Regions from separate parts of the Homo sapiens genome. Here all the other regions are linked to region 2. Evidence: promoter capture Hi-C in 16 types of primary human blood cells and fetal thymus (Javierre and others, 2016). All regions are on one chromosome and are shown on one strand. Each heading gives the region's core, a stretch centred on a gene start or on the middle of the fragment in contact. The rest is flanking DNA. Distances are from core to core; before and after follow the strand shown. Region 1 overlaps LOC100505782 (a long non-coding RNA gene). Region 2 holds the start of KRTAP3-1 (keratin associated protein 3-1). Region 3 holds the start of KRT34 (keratin 34). Region 4 overlaps KRT32 (keratin 32). Region 5 holds the start of KRT35 (keratin 35). Region 6 holds the start of KRT37 (keratin 37). Region 7 holds the start of KRT38 (keratin 38).

What was found. Contacts are between HindIII fragments. The CHiCAGO score rates a contact against its expected background, and 5 or more counts as called.
Region 1: a contact is called between a fragment that was not itself captured here and the fragment with the promoter of KRTAP3-1 in region 2, in 12 of 17 cell types (total CD8 T cells, erythroblasts, naive B cells and 9 more). The highest score is 9.6, in total CD8 T cells.
Region 3: the fragment with the promoter of KRT34 here is called in contact with the fragment with the promoter of KRTAP3-1 in region 2 in 16 of 17 cell types (naive B cells, M2 macrophages, total B cells and 13 more); the score reaches 11.5 in naive B cells.
Region 4: a fragment that was not itself captured here is called in contact with the fragment with the promoter of KRTAP3-1 in region 2 in 12 of 17 cell types (total CD8 T cells, erythroblasts, megakaryocytes and 9 more); the score reaches 12.7 in total CD8 T cells.
Region 5: the fragment with the promoter of KRT35 here is called in contact with the fragment with the promoter of KRTAP3-1 in region 2 in 8 of 17 cell types (activated CD4 T cells, total CD8 T cells, naive CD4 T cells and 5 more); the score reaches 9.7 in activated CD4 T cells.
Region 6: a contact is called between the fragment with the promoter of KRT37 here and the fragment with the promoter of KRTAP3-1 in region 2, in 6 of 17 cell types (megakaryocytes, naive B cells, M0 macrophages and 3 more). The highest score is 7.9, in megakaryocytes.
Region 7: a contact is called between a fragment that was not itself captured here and the fragment with the promoter of KRTAP3-1 in region 2, in 13 of 17 cell types (endothelial precursors, activated CD4 T cells, erythroblasts and 10 more). The highest score is 8.9, in endothelial precursors.

Annotation. Positions count from the first base shown.
Region 1 is chr17:41,403,014-41,405,713 of GRCh38, forward strand. All of the region lies in intron 1 of LOC100505782 (a long non-coding RNA gene), which reads left to right. Among named protein-coding and RNA genes, the nearest start is that of KRT31, 6.8 kb to the left of the region's middle. RefSeq lists an enhancer at 677-1,876. The HindIII fragment of the contact is 2,100 bases long and covers 389-2,488 here.
Region 2 is chr17:41,007,724-41,010,423 of GRCh38, forward strand. KRTAP3-1 (keratin associated protein 3-1) reads right to left here and starts at 1,405. Exons shown (of 1, transcript NM_031958.2): 1 at 798-1,405. The coding sequence starts at 1,351. The coding sequence ends at 1,055. The HindIII fragment of the contact is 1,175 bases long and covers 593-1,767 here.
Region 3 is chr17:41,380,878-41,383,577 of GRCh38, forward strand. It overlaps KRT34 (keratin 34), which reads right to left and starts at 1,429. Exons shown (of 7, transcript NM_001386014.1): 1 at 1,022-1,429; 2 at 836-918; 3 at 179-335. The coding sequence starts at 1,369. RefSeq lists an enhancer at 422-1,621. The HindIII fragment of the contact is 8,651 bases long and covers 1-2,700 here.
Region 4 is chr17:41,460,640-41,463,339 of GRCh38, forward strand. KRT32 (keratin 32) reads right to left here. Exons shown (of 7, transcript NM_002278.3): 6 at 2,191-2,411. Among named protein-coding and RNA genes, the nearest start is that of KRT32, 5.4 kb to the right of the region's middle. The HindIII fragment of the contact is 8,593 bases long and covers 1-2,700 here.
Region 5 is chr17:41,479,706-41,482,405 of GRCh38, forward strand. It overlaps KRT35 (keratin 35), which reads right to left and starts at 1,446. Exons shown (of 7, transcript NM_002280.6): 1 at 922-1,446; 2 at 1-76. The coding sequence starts at 1,392. The HindIII fragment of the contact is 10,492 bases long and covers 1,277-2,700 here.
Region 6 is chr17:41,423,309-41,426,008 of GRCh38, forward strand. KRT37 (keratin 37) reads right to left here and starts at 1,277. Exons shown (of 7, transcript NM_003770.5): 1 at 724-1,277; 2 at 454-536. The coding sequence starts at 1,215. The HindIII fragment of the contact is 11,234 bases long and covers 1-2,700 here.
Region 7 is chr17:41,440,616-41,443,315 of GRCh38, forward strand. It overlaps KRT38 (keratin 38), which reads right to left and starts at 368. Exons shown (of 7, transcript NM_006771.4): 1 at 1-368. The coding sequence starts at 306. RefSeq lists an enhancer at 24-524. The HindIII fragment of the contact is 1,658 bases long and covers 592-2,249 here.

The DNA.
Region 1 (2,700 bases), core at 189-2,688, 400 kb after region 2:
ATGTACCTCCAGCAAGGCCCTCACAGTTGGGAACAGGGAAAGAGCAGGGAAAAAGAAATGAGAAGACTTGGGGTTGAGTGCGTGGAGCTGCCCCTCACCTGCTGTGAGGTGCAGAGGGGGCATTTCACCTCCCTACACCTGTACTTCTCCCACTGCACGATGGGGATTGTGATGTCTGTTCCCCTCTCTCAAGGTTGTTTGGGGCCTCCATTTGGATACAACACAAAGTACTTTAACAAGTGTTTTGTAAATGGTGAAACAATGAACATCTATAGGGATTCTGTTTCCCTCCTCCTCTTTCTCAATAGACAAGGTGGTTTTAAAATGGCAGGAAGTGAGTTGAGCTTCTTTGTCAACTCCTAGTTTATTAAAATTGCCAGAGTCCTCAAGCTTCAAGATCCTGTGAGATACTAAAGGACTTTTATTCCTTGTACCACCCTTTGTGGCATAAATTCTCAGAAACGTTTCTTCTAACATAAACATACTCATTTCCTTCAAGGAAAGGAATCAAAACAATGGGGTCATTATGATTCTATCATCCTTTTGACAAAATCTGAGACTTGGCCTCTGTAAAGCACAGTAGTTAAGAGCACAGTTGCTGGAGGCAGGCTGCTTGGATCTGAATCCTGGCTTCACCACCTAATAGCTGTGTGACCTTGGGCATGTTACTTAGCCTCTCTGAGTCTTGGCTACTTGTCTGCAAAATGAGAAAACCATAGCATTGGCTTTCTAGGATTGTTGTAATGATTAAATGAGTTTACCCATATGACTGTAGCTATAATTTAGACCAGCGCCTGGCTCATAGTAAGAGCTTGATGGATATATGGTTCTATGACAATGATGATGATGGTGAAGCTATATGATTTGATGATGATGATGATGATGATTCTGGTGATGGTGATGGTAATGATGACCTCTGTGGTTTCCAGGGAAACTCTTCACACACGACAAACACACAGATGTGCGTGCACACACACACATGTACTGTCTCATCAAAGCTAATCTTTTAATTAGAAATGAGAGAGCACTGGATGTGAACTTAAGAAACACAGGTCAATCACCCTGGGGCCCCACTGACTCACTTTATGTCACCAGCAGAATCCCTTAACCACTGAATGACTCACCTTCTCTCTCTCTCCCTTAAATGGGAAGGACAATGCTTGCCTGTGCCGTCATGGTGCAAGAATAAGTGGGTTTATTTTGTTAGACAGCTTTGAACTTGTTGGATGAAAGGAGCTATTTAAGTACAAAGGAGATGAGGGCAGCTGGGTCAGGTACTAAATTAAGACTAATCGAGATGGCTCTTCATTATTGAGAGCTTCTCTTGGGTAGGTGCCCAAGGGGTGTGTCACGTGTGCCAAAACAGTTTTACCACTTGAGAAAAAGAACAGAGGAGGGGAGGGCGTGGCAGCCTCTGACCCTTCTTGGGCTTCCTATGCTGGAAATCCCAGTGTCTCTCAAGCAGATCAGTCCTATGTACATGAGCAGTGACCAACAAGTAGGACGCTGGGCTTGAGAGCAGTTGGAGGCAGAGCAACAAGATTCTCACTTAAGCTCCCTCCAGCCTTGGGGCTCGGGACTGTGGTCACTCCAGCACCACACCGCTGTATCAGGAAGACCTGGATTAAACCAGAACCAGCTGTACTTGTAAATTTTTCAGCAAACTACAGTGATTCAGAGAATTCACAGAGGGAAAGGGAAGACCAAAACCAGCTCCTAAAGTAGATTTGGTGGTTCCACTTCAATGCCTGTGGTTTCACTGATCAATAAGACATAGAAAGCAGGGACGCACAGAGTTAGGGGGGCTACAGCCATCTCAACCAGCCCCATCAGTTCCCTAAGTGTTCCCCTCAACATCCCCATCAGTGATTCTGAAGCCTCTGCTTGTCTCCAAGGATAGGGAACTCACTGCTTCTCTTCTCTGGCCAGCTGTGATGCTGAATTCTGGAGATGTGCTGATTCTCAGCCACGGCTATCAAAATATGGAGCTTTTGATTCATGTTCTACCATCTGCAAATTCCAAGACAGACAGTTGCCATAAGGACTCACCAATGGGGGTTACTGGGGAGGTTGGATGGGTCAGCTTGTTTGGGCCTTTCTAGACTGATAGAAATAACTATCATGTAACATTTTCAGAGTTTTGCAATGTAAAAGAGAAAGGCTCTATCCTGATCTGATGGTATGAGGGATTCCTCACTGGAGGACATATCAGGACGGCAAGGCCAGCCCTTTCTGTAGAGGGTCTAGCTAGTCAAGGGCTCATTCCTCAAATAAACTTCCTAACCCAGTGTTTCTCAAACTTGAACCAACATCAGAATCACCTGCAAGTCATGCTAAAGCAGAATGCTGGTTCAGTAAGTCAGGGGTGGTGCTCAAGAATGTGCATGTCTAGCAAGTTCTCAGGTAATGCCAGTGCTACCTGCTGGCGGACCACGCTTTAAGAACCACTGTCCTAAACCTTCTCATGTTTAATTTGTTTCCCCCTCAAAGCTTCCAAAGAACGGGCTTTGGATCTGGTTCAAAGAGACTAGGTTTCAAGTCTTGACTCAGTAACCAACTGAGAATAATAACAGCTGCTTCTTCTTTGCAGGGCTGATGTGGTGCCCTGTGACACAATGTCGGCGAAGCCCCAGCCAGTGCCTTGTTCATAATGGGCATGTCATCCTAAAAGCTCAATTTAAGTTACCTGTTCTGGGGCTT
Region 2 (2,700 bases), core at 155-2,654:
TGCACCTAGATTTTTCTAAGATAAATAAGGACATGAATTAGTGGTTATCGTAGTAGTTTTGTTCTAATAGAAACTGTGTGTTTTTGCTCTCAGAATTGTGTGACTATTTCTGGTGTATAGAAAATACTACACTGTAGTCTGATATTTTAAGCATATTTCAATGTCATGATATTATATGTCACTTAGACTAGCAAACTTCTAATCATAGTCATGACTAATGTAAACCAATGTAAGCCCCATTTGAGGAATCAATGAATACTCGATAAATGCTAACATTAATTAAAAATGGATTGTTTTGGAAGACAGCATATATGAAGAAATGGATATATACACTTCTCAAAATTGCTTTGCATTTTGAGCTCAGAATTTCAGATGACTGTGAGGACTAGGATAATCAAATTATTTATACACACCAGCACAGTGATCAATTCATTTAGTCAATTAAGGAAGAAAGAAAAATCAATGTCAGAATCAATGGAAACTAAAATCAAGTATTTTTAAAACATTCTGTTAATCTCTAGACTCTAGCATAGTGCTTGCACAGTGGATGTCTTCCAATAATATCTATTAAATAAATATCTGTTAAATAAAAAGCTTCTATAAAATGAACTACCACATTTTTTACTTTTTAACTTATCACAAATAACCAGTATCTATTTTTTCGATAAATTCCACTATGAGAGCTCTTATTCTGTTGGGGTAAATCTTGGATAGTGTGATAACCTACTGTTCAGGTTTAGGTAGGCATTCCACTTTCCCTAATGGGAGACATGAAAATAAATAATCACAAGGTCATATTTGCTAAGCCAGAATAAAGTTTATTAACAAATGGTCAAAATGGTTATTTCTCAAAGAGTGATGAAATAGCCTAAAAGACAGAAGGGAGGTCTCCAATGGTACCCAAATGTGCAAATAATTAAGAAGATTCATCAAGACTTGGCCCCGGGGATTGGGATGGCCTTAGCCTTGATGTAGGCAGTAGTGAGTGCTGAAGCCCAGATGGTGCAGAGGACATTGGGCAGCCACCTCACGGAACCTGTGCAGACTCGGCTGGTTAACAGCGGGGCTCACAGGGACTCTCACAGCCAGGCTGAACATAGGTGGTCAGGTTGATCCCACTCAGTCCGGGAGTCGGGTGACAGTTGTTGAGCAGCCAGCAAGTTGGCACATAGGTATCAGGCTTGCAGCAGGGTGGGGGGCAGGTGTCACAGCAGATGGGCTGAAGGAGGCTGATCTCATGTGGGCAGGTGCTGGGTAGGCAGACTCCACAGCGGCAGCTTTTATCAAATGAGCAGAAGGTGGTGGCAGGGCCGGTGGGGACGCTGCAGGAGCGGAGAGCACAGCAATACATGGCAATGGGAGGTGGGTTTTTGTTGAGTTGAGAGAAGTCTGTTGGTGTCTCGATGCTCCTCTCTTCTGCTCTGGCTCTTATATACCCATCTCCCTGGGCGTCAGCCTATTACTGAGGGTTTTTCCCCCATGTTTCAGTTTATAGTTATTTCCATAAAAAATGCCTAATTACTTAAGTGTTTATTACCTAAGATACACTGCTCACCTCATAAAAGAGATTTAGGTTGTTTTGTTGTCAAATTAGGACTATTCACATTGCCAGTGTGTCACTACACAGAAATCTTCATTCCAGTCTTCAAAGGTACCGGGCCATTATCTTCTAATCATTATACCCTCACTAATAATGGCTCGGTATGCCAGGCATCTGCAAACGTTTCCCACTTCTTTTGTTTACTTTTCAGATGAAGAGGACAAGTAAGCTTTTTGTTTGCTGTTCTACCAGTGACTACAGGTTCTATGTGATCCTTTAGGCCCTCAGGCTGAAAAAGTGATATAACATTTTAGATTTATTATTTGTGGCTCCAATAAACTGAATGAAGATGAATGGATAGAATCTATAGAGAAATAGATTTTGGTTTTGTGTAAAGAGGCACTTTCAAACAGAGCTATAACAAATCGTTTGTTCTGCATTCCTTTCAAATATGCTCTGAACAATAACTTGGTAAGAACATGCAGGTGGGAATGAAGACCTTCATGGGTGACAAAGATGGGTGTCCTTTAAGCTCCATCCAACTGTGTTATAAATGGAGATTATTTATAACCAAAAGGCTGGTTGTATTGGGCCATTCAGAAGCTAAATGATGCAGTATTTACCAGACTGAGTTCCATGAACACTGGTTCCAAGGGACTTGAAAGTGTTTTCTGGTAAGTAAGTTTGGGAAATGCTGAATTCTTCATTGTTGGGCCTCTCGGAGCCTTTAATGTGCTAAAATGCTCTATGACTTTTCAATACAGAGATATAGCATATATTTTTCTCCAAACTTACTTGACCATGGACTGCTTTTTGTTTGTTTTCAGAGATTAGCTCTATAGGTCAGTGCTTTATGAAACATACTTGGGGAGATTTAGCAACATCTTACAGCAAGCTTGTTCAACCTGTGGCCCAGAAAGGCATTGAATGCAGCACAACACAAATTCATAAACTTTCTTAAAACATTATGAGATTTTTTTGTGATTTTTTTTCTTTTTTTGCTCATCAGCTGTCATTAGTGTTAGTGTATTTTATGTGTGGCCCAAGACAATTCTTCTTTCAATGTGGCCCAGGGAAGCCAAAACATTGAACACCCCTGTCTTACTTCCAGGCTCTGTGGTCCAGAATAGAGACATTTCCGAGTTTCATCTAAACCACTA
Region 3 (2,700 bases), core at 179-2,678, 370 kb after region 2:
CTGAAGAATGAGCAGCTCACTCCACTCCTTGATATGGATGTAGCACCGTCACTCTCTGAGAACATCTTGAGTTCCTCAGAGAAGGGTCCCAGACCAGGGATCCAGACAGTAATCCTCTCCTGATTCCCAGTGCTAGTAGCTTAGTTCTGAGGCCTGCTTTTGTGAATTTGTTTCATACCTCCTCATGGTTCTTCTTCAAGCAGATCAGCTCCTCCCTCAGGGACTCCACCTGGGACTCCAGGTCAGACTTGCAGAGGGTCAGCTCATCCAGGATCCTGCGTATGCTGTTGATGTCCGACTCCACCAACAGCCTCAGGGACTGCTCCGTCTGGTACCTGCACGTGTCGGAGTGGGAGGATAAGTCAGGAAAGAAAACCACCTTCCCCTCTCATGTGTTGTTTGGGTAGAATTGGCCTGAATCTTCTTGAACTTACAGTTTTCTGCCTCTTCTCTTCCATATGCTTCAGTCAAGCTGTCCATGGATAGGCTGAAGAGGTTCCCTGACTCACCTAACACCACGAGGAGCCCACAGGCACACATGAGATGAAGTCTCTCACTGTGTTCTCGGTTTTGTTAGCTAATATACCACCAAATCAATTCCCAAAGAACAATTCATTTCAATCTCTGAATTTTGTGGTTTAAGAAACACTTCCAAAAAAAACCAGTATAGACCAAAGAGCAGGCAGCACATGAGTCTAGTTCCCTATTTGAAACTAATTTTACATAACCAGCCCTAGGAGGAGAAATAGAGAGAAATGGCTTTCTCCTCTCTTCCAGGCAATAGTAGGTCCCTAGGGCCATGAAAGAACCATAGGGACCTTGAAGTTCAACATACTTGCTTCTGAAGTCGTCAGAGGCCAGCTTGGCATTGTCAATGTTCACCACCAGCCTGGCATTCTCAGCCTTGGCACACAGAATCTGAAAAGAAATTTCTCTCATGAGGTACACTTGAACTTGAAAATGTCTTACTGTTCAAAGAGAGCCAGCTGCTGCTGGCCCCCCATATGGCCAACCCCCTCACCTTCTGCTGGAGCTCCTCAATGGTCTTGAAGTAGGACTGGTAGCTGGGGCACAGCAAGGGCTCCTGCTGCTGGGACCGCTCCTGGATGAGTTTCTCCAGCTCCGCGTTGTCCCGCTCCAGCTGACGCACCTTCTCCAGGTAGCTGGCCAGGCGGTCGTTCAGGAACTGCATAGTCTCCTTCTCGCTGCCATTGAAGGAGCCCTCACAGAACCAGTTGCAGTTGCTCACATTGGCGGGGATGTTGCAGGCCCCAGGCAGGGTGTAGCCGTGGCAGCTGGGGGGCACGCAGGGCCGGGAGGAGCAGCTGGTGCGGCAGCCCAGGCTGGGCAGGCAACAACTGTAAGACATGGTGCTGGAACAGGTAATGGAAAAGCAGGTAAGCTGCTGGAGGTGGATGTGGGCAGGTTTGAGTCTCTCCTTCCTCTGCAGTCCTTTTATACCATTAATTGTGGGTGGGGGCTTGGCATACAGCATAGTTTCCTTTCCTAATGCTTCAGCTAATTTTTCTCCAAAATATGCTAGTTAGATGCTTCTAAAGAGTCCCCCCTCAACCCATAAAATTATTCCATTCAGCTTATGTCACACCAGGCTCTTCCTGGGTGCTAGTGGTTGGTGAAATCAGAGTTTCATCAGATGGCTTCATAGGAGATAGAATCATCACAGCCCCAAAAGGCTGTCTGCATTACTCAGAGGGGAGGACAGCCAGGGACATGGGGTGGAGTTGTTTGGGAATCAGGGATTCCTCACCCAGGAGTTTCCGCCACTGTTCTTTCTCCCCAGAGAGAGAGCTCTGAGAGAGAGCTTTGAGAGTTACTCTTCCAAGTAGCTCTTTCCTCCCACATTCATCCATGTTTCAGCATTCAATTTGTTTTTATAGCAGAAACTCAACCTGTATTCGCCGAAATGATCCTGAGCCTTACTATTCGTTGGGGTTTAGGGAACTTGCCAACACATGGAGCAACTGAAAACAATGGCATGTTCATGGTTGAGAAATGAGAAAGTAAAATGGAAACCAATGGAATGGATGGGAGTATACCTAAAAGAGGGCATCTGCAAATGGCAGCCCACACGTCAAGTTTACCCTGCTGAATTTTTGTAAATAAAGTTTTTGTTTGTTTGTTTTCTGTTTTTTTTTTTTTGAGACAGAGTCTCACTCTGTCGCCCAGGCTGGAGTGCAGTGGCACGATCTCGGCTCACTGCAACCTCCACCTCCCGGGTTCAAGCAATTATCTGCCTCAGCCCCCCGAGTAGCTGGGATTACAGGTGCCCGCCACCACACCCGGCTAATTTTTGTGTTTTTAGCAGAAATGGGGTTTCACCATGTTGGCCAGGCTGCTCTTGAACTCCTGAACTCGTGATCCGCCCGCCTCGGCCTCCCAAAGTGCTGGGATTACAGGCGTGAGCCAATGCGTCCGGCAGTAAATAAAGTTTTAATGGAACACAGCCATGCCCATTTGTTTAGCTATTGTATATGGCTGCTTTTGTGCTACAGTGGCAGAGTTGTGTAGTTGTGACAGAGACTATAGTGTCCACAAAGCCCTAAAATTAAAAAATTTGCCAACTTGTACTAAAGCAACAGCCTCTCTAAAGATGAGCAAGAGTAGAAATATCTAGAAGAAAAAATATGCTGGAAACAGTCTGGAGCAGTGAGAGTTCAGATGGCAGCACTGAAGCATGAA
Region 4 (2,700 bases), core at 194-2,693, 450 kb after region 2:
GTTGAACAATGAGAACACATGGACACAGGGAGGGGAACATCATATACTGGGGCCTGTCGAGAGGTGAGGGGAGCAGGGAGGGAGAAAATTAAAACAAATATCTAATGCATGCAGGGCTTAAAACCTAGATGACGGGTTGATAGGCAACAAACCACCACCATGGCACATGTACACCTATGTAACAAACCTGCACGTTCTGCACATGTATCCCAGAAGTTAAAGTAAAATAAAATAAAATAAAGAAAAGCAGCTTCCTTAATAGGACCTGCATGATCCTGCTCCCACCTCTTGCCCCAGCCTCACCTGATAGCTCCATTGCTCTGGGAGCTGCAGGTACTCTGACCTTCTTCCAGCTCCTGCAGGGACTGTACTGCTCAGGCCACAGGGCTTGTGCCCTGTGCCGTACATCTCTGGAACCCTCTTCCCTCTCCACTCACCTACATTTCTTCTCTTGTTTAAGAGCTCAACTCAACTCTCACGTCCTCCTTGAAGCCTCCCCCACCTCTCTGAGACAAAGCCCCCATGGTACATGTATCTCCTTTCATCGTGAGTAGTAATCATTCTATTATGGTCTGTCTCCCCGGCCAAGCAGTGAGGCCAGCAGCCACAGACCCATGCCCACCCTGCATACCTCACATAGAATAGGCACCTAATAAGAATATTTGGATCAGACAAAACAATAAATGAATGAAGAATTAATACATGGTGAAAGGAAAAAGGATGATCTCAGAGACTGACAGGCATGCACTCAAAACCAGGAACAACACACTGGATGCTGGATGGAAACCCAGTAGCTCAGAGAACCAATGGGAGGCCTGAGGATCATGTGCAACCTGAAATGTGTTCCATTTGCCTGGCACTATATATTTTCTTTAATTTTTTGAAAATACTTAAGAATCAGGAGAATTTAACATTTTTAAAAACCCAGATTCTCAGCTTCCCTGGAACTATTGGAAGATCAGCAATATTGGACCTGCTTCTCACACAGTAGAAGTGGCCCTGAGGGCATGCCATTGCCTGGATTGGACAAGGCAAGAGCTTTCTGCTTTTCTACCATCTCCGTATGACCCACGTCATTCATGCATGTTAATGGCCTGGTCCTTGCAAATGTTTGACACAACACTTGCCCTGAAGTTATAGATTCTGAATGATGGAGAAGCAATGCCAAATGCGGAATAAGAAACAGCTACAACAGTCGTCAGCCCACTGGGTGTCCATGGCCCAGAGGTACCCTGCATTCAGACAGCCACCAAGTCCTGCTGATTCTACCTGCACAGTGTCTAGAGCTGATGCCTCTGCTGCCCTAACTCAGGCCCTCCCTATTGCTTACCTAGGCTGTGGCCAGGGCCTCCTGGACAGTTTCCCTGCCTGGTTCCCCTCCCTCTACTCAGTTCTTCCTGCTGCTATCAGGGCCATCTTCCTGAAGAACAGCTTTGAGCTTGAGAGACATTTACTGAGCATCTACTATGTGCCACGTACAGGGAATAAAATTGTATTATAATGTCTCTGCATTCTAGATGTTTACCATCTAGTGGAGAAGACACACAGTAAATTCTCTCATTTCCTCCTCAAAACAATTTCCACTCACCTATAAATTAAAGCCCTCCCTTCCCAGTATGACCCGTGTTGTTCTCCATAAATGGGCCCCGGCTGATCTTTCCTGTCCTGCTCCCCACCAGGGCTCAATTACACAAGGCTACCTATTGTCCTGCTGACATGCCAAAATCTCCGTTCTGAGAGGAATGGAGCTATGAGGTGAGGCTGGGGTAAGAGGTGGGAGCAGGATTGTGTAGGTACTATTAATAAAGCTGCTTTTCATCCTAAGCTCTGGACAGGCCATGACCTCCAGTCACCTGTCTGCCTATCTCCCTAAACATATGGAAATGACAGGAGGGCAAATGCCCTGTCTTCCTCTATCTTGGTGTCCTCCATAGCACCTGCCCCATGGTGGGCACTTAGAAGGAGCTTGCCAGCTTGGAATGAGATAGAATGGTCTCCGAGGGGCTTGGTTCAGGATGGCAGCATGAACACCACTGCCTGACTTCCTTCAGAGCATACCAGCTTCTTAATGGCTCCATAGTCAGGACAGGGTTCTAAGCTGATGGTCCCTCAAGGGTAGATCCAGTTGCTTCCTATAACCTCCCAGAATCCCTGCCCACGTCTCTCTAAGCCTCAGCTGGGCCTGCGTACTTGCAGTCCTCGTTCTCCAGCAGGCTCCGGTACGTGTTGATCTCGCCCTCCAGCCGGGCCCGGACGTCCAGCAGCACCTGGTACTCCTGGTTCTGCCGCTCCAGGTCAGCCCGGATCTCAGCCAGCTGGGCCTCAACGTTGGTGATCATGCACTGCATCTGGGCCAGCTGGGAGCTGTAGCGGGCCTCACTCTCCGTCAGCGTGTTTTCCAGGGAGTCCCTCTAAGGCAAAGGAAGACATAACCATGAGGAAGGGAGCTGTTTACCATGGCCTGCTTCAGAAAGAACCAAGAAGAGCCAAATCTCCCTTTGATGCTGGAAATGAGCCCTCCCTACACCAGTCACTTTGGAAACGGAAGCCCAGAAAGGTCAAATGACTTGTTCAAGGGTAAACAGCTGGTACATTATGGAACCACAGTTTCTGTTCGTAAATCTGATCCTAAATCCCTCCTTTCTTCTGCAACCTTTGTCTGCCTTCAGGATTGGATCTGAGATTTCCCAAGTACCTCCC
Region 5 (2,700 bases), core at 196-2,695, 470 kb after region 2:
TGAAGTCATCTGCAGCCAATTTGGCATTGTCAATCTCCACCACCAGCCTGGCATTCTCAGCCTTGCTGCATAGAGTCTGGAGATATGAAGAAGTTATTTCATTGCAAGAAAGGACATTCCACTTGTTGGAGCTCCCTAAAGCTGACAAGGGCTGACTCTGGAAGGAGGAAGTCACCCATCCTAGACCTCTGCTACTCCATGTGCATTGGAGTGTTATGGGCAGGCTCTAGGGATCAACTATGGAAAGTCCAGGGTTTCTTCCAGTGCAGTGTATCTGTGACCTGTTACTCAGGTTAGATAGCTGCATGAAAATGCAACAGGAAAGGCCTGGCATGATGAAATGAGGCTTCTTCCAATCTCCCTGTCTCCCAGGCCTACTGGGGGCCCAGGGCATTTCATTGCCAACAACATACCCCGGGATTCTCTGGTCATAAATGGTCCCTCACAGGAGCCAGCTATAACTTTGGGCCAGGCGAGAAGTGGATATGGGCCCTTGGCAAGAAAGAAACTTCTCTGACAGGCATTTTCTTCCCTGAGTTACTTATGGGAAGCCTGAACTGCACTGCACTAAATACATCAAACCCAATCCCCTGACTTTAAATAAAAGAGGAAATGAAAACTCAGAAGACTCAGAGGATTGGGCAATACCACCAAAGGTCACAGAGTTCATTCATAGACCTGATGTTCAAGCTCTGGCTCCAGTAACTGCCATCTGGGTCGCTTACCCAGCCTGAATCTCAGTGTTCTCAACTGTATAATGGGCTAATGATACCTCCCTCTTAAGGTTATTGGGAGGAGCAAATGAGGCCACAGAGATGAACATGCTTGGTGACTTCCAACATGCCCTATGGGAACAGAACTACCAATGAATGCTGGTGACACAAAGTTCCTGGGAATCCAAAGCCACTCTGAACCTCTTACCTTCTTCTGGAGCTCCTCGATGGTCCGGAAGTAGGACTGGTAGTCAGGGCACATGTAGGGGACCTGCTGCTCACACCACTCACGGATGCGGCTCTCCAGGCTGGCGTTCTCCTGCTCCAGCTGACGCACCTTCTCCAGGTAGCCGGCCAGGCGGTCGTTCAGGGATTGCATGGTCTCCTTCTCATTGCCAGTGAGGATGCCCTCCCCAAACCAGCCCCCACCCCCACTGTAGCTGGTAGCGAAGCCTCCAGCAGGGAGGCAGAGAGCAGGGAGGCAGCTGGTGGCCCTGTAGCTGCTTCTGCCCAGACCCACTGAGCAGGCAGAGAAACTTCTGGCCACAGGGGAGAGACTTGGAAGCTTGCAAGAGCTGCTGGAGTACATTGCGGACACACGAGTGGAGCCCCCACTGGCCCCTCCTGGGCTCTTGAGAGACCCAGAAGAGAAGCCGGCCTTGAGGCATTTGGAAGCCATGGCCCCTGCAACTCAGATGCAATTGATAGGTCTCTGAGGCCAGACACCCCAAAGCAGAGAAGCAGCTCCTTACCCCAGATTTATATCTCTGCCCCAGTGGGCATTGGTTGGCCTTTACAAAGTGTTTTCTCCTCATTAAAGTTAACACCACTTTCTATTAAAACCCCTCATTAACCTGTTATTTAGTTTCCTGTGAAAATTTACCAGTCTCATAAAATAGGAGCCCCATTACTATGTCAAGACTCATCTCCACCACCCCACATCACTGGGAAGACCAAGTCCCTGTCAGTTCTTCAAAGGGACCTGTCATTTGAGCCCAGACCTCAGCCTCCGCATTAAGCAAGCATGGGAGTTCAGCCACTGTCTTGACTTTCTCCAACTTTGACTTCTTTTATTGGCCTGAGGGAGTAGAGGAGGTCTCTGGGGTGCTCCCAGAAGATGGAAGGGTAAACTTGGTTGGTGCAGGAAGGCAGGGGTCTTGCAGCCAGGGAGACACAGAAGGCTCTTGAATTGGCCCAGAAAATATGGCTAAGGTGACCAATTTTCTTGGTTTCCCCAGGAATTTTCTGGCTTTAGTTCCGAAAGTTCCATATGCCAGGGAAACCTCAGTCCTCGGTAAAATGGGACAGCTTATCACCCTAGATACTGCAGAGCCCTGATGGACACTTCCCTACTCTTTCCCTTGCCAGGAAGTCTGTGCAGGTTGTAGAGCCTAAGTTCTAGCCACAATGCCTAGAGATCAGTTAATTGGACACCTGCCCATGATGACATCTAGGAGGGCATGTCTTCCCCAGCCCTGGTTGAGAAATGGAGAAGCCCTTCCTTCTGGCTGCCTGAATTGGAGCTCTTTTCACACAGCCCTATCAATAACCCGGCTGATGGTAGCAACCATCATTCACTGAGCATTTAGTACCCACCAGCCCCCACGCTGATCTGTCTCTATGCATTCTCTTATTCAGTCCTCACACAAACTCATGAGATTGGCATCACCAATAGCCCATTAAATAGAGGAGGCTTGGACTGTTTCAGGAGCCTGTCCCAGATCACAGCTGAAAAAGCATCTGTACAACTGTTCAAGGCATGCTATCTTCTTTAAGGCCTCACACACACCCTCCAACACAGTCGTGGATAGAAAGGTGCTGACTCCTACAGAAGGAGACAATGGTCAGAGTAGAAAATGGCTTACCCAAGGTCCACACAGGCTTCCCAGGGAGGCTAAAGCCCAGGCCTTGCAGCTCCAAACCACAGGCCCACCCCACTGCCTCTAAGGGCCCAGTCCTGGCCAGGCCTTCCCCCGAAGTCTGGCCC
Region 6 (2,700 bases), core at 27-2,526, 420 kb after region 2:
ATTCATTATTTCTCGTTGTTTTCTTGCTTTTCCCCTTCATTCAAGCACAACTCTAGCTACCAAGGAGCTTCAATGACAATTCCTCCAGCTGATGGATTTGGCCAAGAGTCAGAGAGTCTAGCAACAACCTATGCATTGACAGTTTATTTTTGTGATGACTCAATTTTACTTCTGATTGAAAAGCAAAATCCTCTTATCTTCTAGATATGGGAGAAAGTGACATAGGTTCTAACCAATCTAGACTACAGCCCTTCTTTTTCTTTCAATGCTTATATTCTCTTTCCTCCTATATAATGACCATTTCTAGCAACAGGCTAATTTAAGGTGTGGAGAGAAATATTCTTCTAGTCAAAAACTGTTTTTGAACACCTACAATATAGACTGAGTAATGGGGCGGGCCCTTGGAAATACAGCAGGAGAGAAGTCACACTGACCCTCCTCATCCTGACTTACTTGATCCTAAAGTCATCAGCAGCCAGCTTCGCGTTGTCAATTTGTACAATCAGCCTGGCATTCTCAGCCTTGCTGCACAGGATCTGAGGAAAACGGAAAGACGGTTCACACACAAAGCACCATACTCTAAGCTCCCACTCCATGTGTGGTATTTACGCTCATGTCCAAGAGAAACCAAGAACCCAAAGCTCTCTGGACCTTATGCAGATTCCTCCTGCGAAGGCTTCTGCCTTCTCAGACCCAGCATGCCCAGGCGATCCCACACCTCACCTTCTGCTGGAGCTCCTCGATTGTACGGAAGTAGGACTGGTAGTCGGGGCACACGGTGGACTCGTGGCACTTGCTCCTCTCGAGGAGTGTGGTCTCCAGCTCTGCATTCTCCTGCTCCAGCTGGCGCACCTTCTCCAGGTAGTTGGCCAGGCGGTCATTCAGGAACTTCATGGTCTCCTTCTCATGGCCATTCAGGGTGTTTTTGCCGTAGGCCCCACAGATTCCGATGTTGCCGGGAATGTGACAGGTCCCTGGCAAGGGACAAGCAGTGTGACTGGTTGGGGGCAGACAGAGGCTGGGGCGGCCCAGGGGAGTCGACCCCACACGGACTCTGTTGGCGTGTGCCACGTTGGCCAAGAGGCACATGGAGGCAGCATTGGCCTCTGCCACAGGCTGGCACCCAACATCGATAGGAGAGACAAAGACATTTCTTGCTCCAGGAGCCATGGTGCAACCCAGAGGGCATGAGGAGGTGCTGTAGAAGGAGGTCATGGTGTAGGGCTGAGGCTGCACAGGAGCTTCAGATCAGCTGGGAAGGCTGAGCCACTGAGACTGAAGCCTCCTCTCCTCCCAACCCTTTTATACCCCATCCTGGGCGGGTGTTGGCTCCAGTGCTTTGACCTCCTGCCTTGATTATCTACCTGTTGTGGTGCCATCATCCTGTTACTCAGCTGCTGAGTTTACCATGAGAAGTTCCTCAGCTCATTAAAGCAATGTTGACAAATCTGAGATGCCTCTTGGCTCTTCCATATCAGGTTAGCTGTTGGTGGGAAGTCAGAGACTCACTGTTTCTGCTCAACAAACACCAGCAGTTGATTCAGGCCCCAATTGCTCTCTCTGGACTATGGTCTCTGTGGATGTGGTCACAATGAAGGCTCAAATCTTTCCGTCAGTAATTTGTGTAGCAGGAGACACAGAGAACCAATGGGACCCACTGGATCTTTCGCCTGTGCAAGACTGAATCAGCCTTTCCTTTGAAGAGAAAATATCAGTTAATAAAACCAATGCATCTACTGATATTTGACGATTGAGAGGCGCCTTTTTTTCTTTCTTCTTTCACATTGCATACTCCCTTGAGAAGCAATAACATCTGGAAGCAATGGCGCTAATTAAGTTTTGGTTGACTAGTCAGAATCAGCTATTCATTCATTTGTTCATTCATTCATTGGTTCAGCATGCTTCCTGAATATCCCCCATAACTCAGGCAGTGTGCTGGTTCCTGGACACGCAATGTTCCCTGTTCATCAGGAGTAAACAATGCCTCTGAAATCTCTGGATGTTCTACACAAACTTGAATGAGAACCATAGATCAACAAGAGTTAGTGAAAGACAGAGGATCTATAGTTCTGGCCAAGGAAGTATCTAGAAAGAAATCACTAACAAAGAAAAATCTTATTTGATCCAGGAAAGGGAGATTGGGCACAGAGCTCAAGCAGTATTCAAATGAAAGGTCCAGAACTAACATTGATTGAGTACTTAGGTGTGCTAGGCATTCTACTGTGTTCTTTCCTATCTAACCCTTACCACCTATGAGGTGGTTACTCATTGCCTCAATGTACAGATGAGAAAACTAGAGTGAAGTACATTTGCACATTTTCTGATTGACAGTTAGTGAACTGGCAAAGGCTCGATTCAGTCTCATGTCTGCTAGGCCCATTCTCTTTTCACTTCATCATGGCCCCCGGTGAGAACAACGGTGTCATTGCCCCGTCAGTGCTGGGCCTAAGGAGAGGGCAAGAAGGGGCTTAGTTACTGGATGAGAAATTGTGGTGAAAAGAAAATTACTGAAGGTCTTTGTGTTCCAGCAAAGGAAAAGATTTAAATACTATGGCAGTGACAACAAGAAAATGCACTTTAAAAAGTTAAACTAGGCCGGGCGCGGTGGCTCACGCCTGTAATCCCTGTACTTTGGGAGGCCAAGGCAGGCGGATCACCTGAGGTCAGGAGTTCGAGACCAGCATGAACAACATGGAGAAA
Region 7 (2,700 bases), core at 171-2,670, 430 kb after region 2:
GCCATTCAGGGTGTTTTCACCATAGGCCCCACAGATTCCAATGTTGCCAGGAATGTGGCAGGTCCCTGGCAAGGGACAAGCAGTGTGGCAGGTAGGCGGCAGACAGAGGCTGGGGCGGCCCAGGGGAGTGGACCCCACACGGACTCGGTTGGCATGTGCCACGTTGGCCAAAAGGCACATGGGGGCAATGTTGGCCTCTGCCCCAGGCTGGCACCCAATGTCGATGGGAGAGACAGAGACATTTCTTGCTCCAGGAGCCATGGTGCAACCCAGAGGGCATGAGGAGCTGCTGTAGGAAGAGGTCATGGTGTTGGGCTGAGGCTGCACAGGAGCTTCAGATCAGCTGGGAAAGCTGAACCACTGAGACTGAAGCCTCCTCTCCTCCCAGCCCTTTTATACCCCATCCTGGGCGGGTGTTGGCTCCAATGCTTTGACCTCCTGCCTTGATTATCTACCTGTTGTGGTGCCATCATCCTGTTACTCAGCTGCTGAGTTTACCATGAAAAGTTTCTCAGCTCGTTAAAGGAATGTTGACGAATCTGAGGCCTCTTGGCTCTTTGAAATCAGGTTGGCTGTTGATGGGAGGTCAGAAGCTTTTTATTATCTTTCAAAGAAGCAAAGTTATAGCCATCAGATGCTTAGACCTTGACTGGGTTTGGCCTCTTTATGGATGTGTCCACTCTGGAGACACAAACTTTCCTGTTGGTCAGTGGTGTAGCAGGAGGACTAACCCCGGTGATGACAATGGTTCTCACTTGGGTTAAGACTCAACCAGCCTTCCCTATCCAGGGAAGAAACTGAGTCTTGGAATTGGTGGATGTTATGGCCTTGGGTTATCAAGAAGTCCTACATTTCTTCTTTCTTTAGTTGGTTGCCTTTCAGACTCACTTTGAGGAGCAACAAGACTTAGATGAATCCAGTCACTCAAAACACATCCCCTGGCTACGTCCCATATGCTACGCACCTTGCTGATGCTTGATATATAGTTGGTTAAGCACAAAATAGTTCCTGCCATTGGGGAACAACTGTAACTTGGGTAGACGTGATGTTTCAAACAAGGTATCTGAGAAGCTCATGAAAATGAGGATGACTCCAAAAACCATGGCTTATCTCGACCAAGAAGGGCAAGCTCAAGAAGCCAGAAATAAACAAAGAGAAATGAGCAATAATCTTACTGAACCTCAAATAAGAACTTGGTCATGAAAGTCAAAGGACATTGAGTGATCAGAGCCTCTGTGGGCTCTCTTCATACCTTGCTTCCTTTATTCTAAAGTCAGTCATGAGCCTTCACCCTATGAGCTAGGGGATTGAGCAATGATACCTTTTAATCTTTACTTCCAACCTGGGAGGTGGGTACTCTTAATTTTACAAAATAAATAAACAAGCCATTGAGGACAGTTTTCTAAGATCAACCTCACTATAAAGTATAAAGCCTATTCTCAACATCAGCTTCTTTCAACTCCAGAAACTGTTTCTTCACCTTGACCACCTCCAAATCCTCCACCCCAAGGATAACTACTGTGTCATTGCTAGAACTAAGAAGGATTCAAATTCCTAGAAACCGGGCAAGAAGTTGAAATTAAGATGTAAAACAAAAATCTGACATTGTGTATTTTTCCCTTTGTATCTCAGAAAATACAGATGTGGAGGTATTCATACAATAAAACAGAGTTTCTCCAAGGGCTAAATCAGAAGATGCCAGGGGAAAGTCCTGTCCCTAAAATGGTTATATTACACATTCCACATTCAGATAGTTCTTGGTACTAGGGATCCAAGACACATGGCTGCTGAGATCCCAAAACTTTTCTCCCAAAATTTGTGACAGAAGATACATAGACCCCTGAGACTAAGAAAAACCTAATGTGGAACAATCCAAAGTGATTATAACTAGAATTTTGGGAAAATGAGTTTTTGCCAGTCCCCTGAGCATTGAACAAAAGCTGAACATACACCTCTATAGGGATCAGACGTGCATATGTGAAACACAGGCTATTGGAGTTCTATCAAGAAGAAATACAGAATCTGAGAATTCAGTCCAGATTGGGCTTCTCAGGAAAGTAAGTAGTAGTGAGCGCTGACCTAAGGGTTATTCAGAGCTCACCAATCCATAACCCTTTACAGACAACATCATTGGGAGACATCACCAGGGCAGGCTGTCCCATCCTCCAGAGGCCACTGGGTGCAATCTGCATATGTTACATCTTCAAACACCCTTTTGTTACTCTCCTCCGCCTCATCACATAGCAACAAGCTTCTCTATAAATCAGAGAGCCAGGCTTTTAAAGTCATTTCCTTTGATTTGCTAAGTAGCACCCATCTTTTGGCTTTATCCTCTGCCCAGATTCATTCCATGGACTAAAAGCCACGATTTCGTCCATTCACAATACATGACTCATCACTGCTGAAGCCTTGTGTGTCCAGATGACACCCCTCTCTGCCAACTGGCTTGGGTCCTGGCTTGGGCTTCTACCTTGTACTGTTTTGCATAATGATACTGATGTTGCATGGCTCTTTGTAAAATCGCTTTGTTCCCCTGATTTGTATTTTCTCAAAGGAGGTGAAGGAGCGGGTGGGGATCCTAAGACTCTCTTCCTTCCCAACCCTTTAAAAAGAGTCCCTGTGGCCCCTGGTGACCGAATATGAGGCCAGGTTCAGTAACAAGAAGTGATGAATACAGAGTGTGAGAGATGGGAGCCTGCT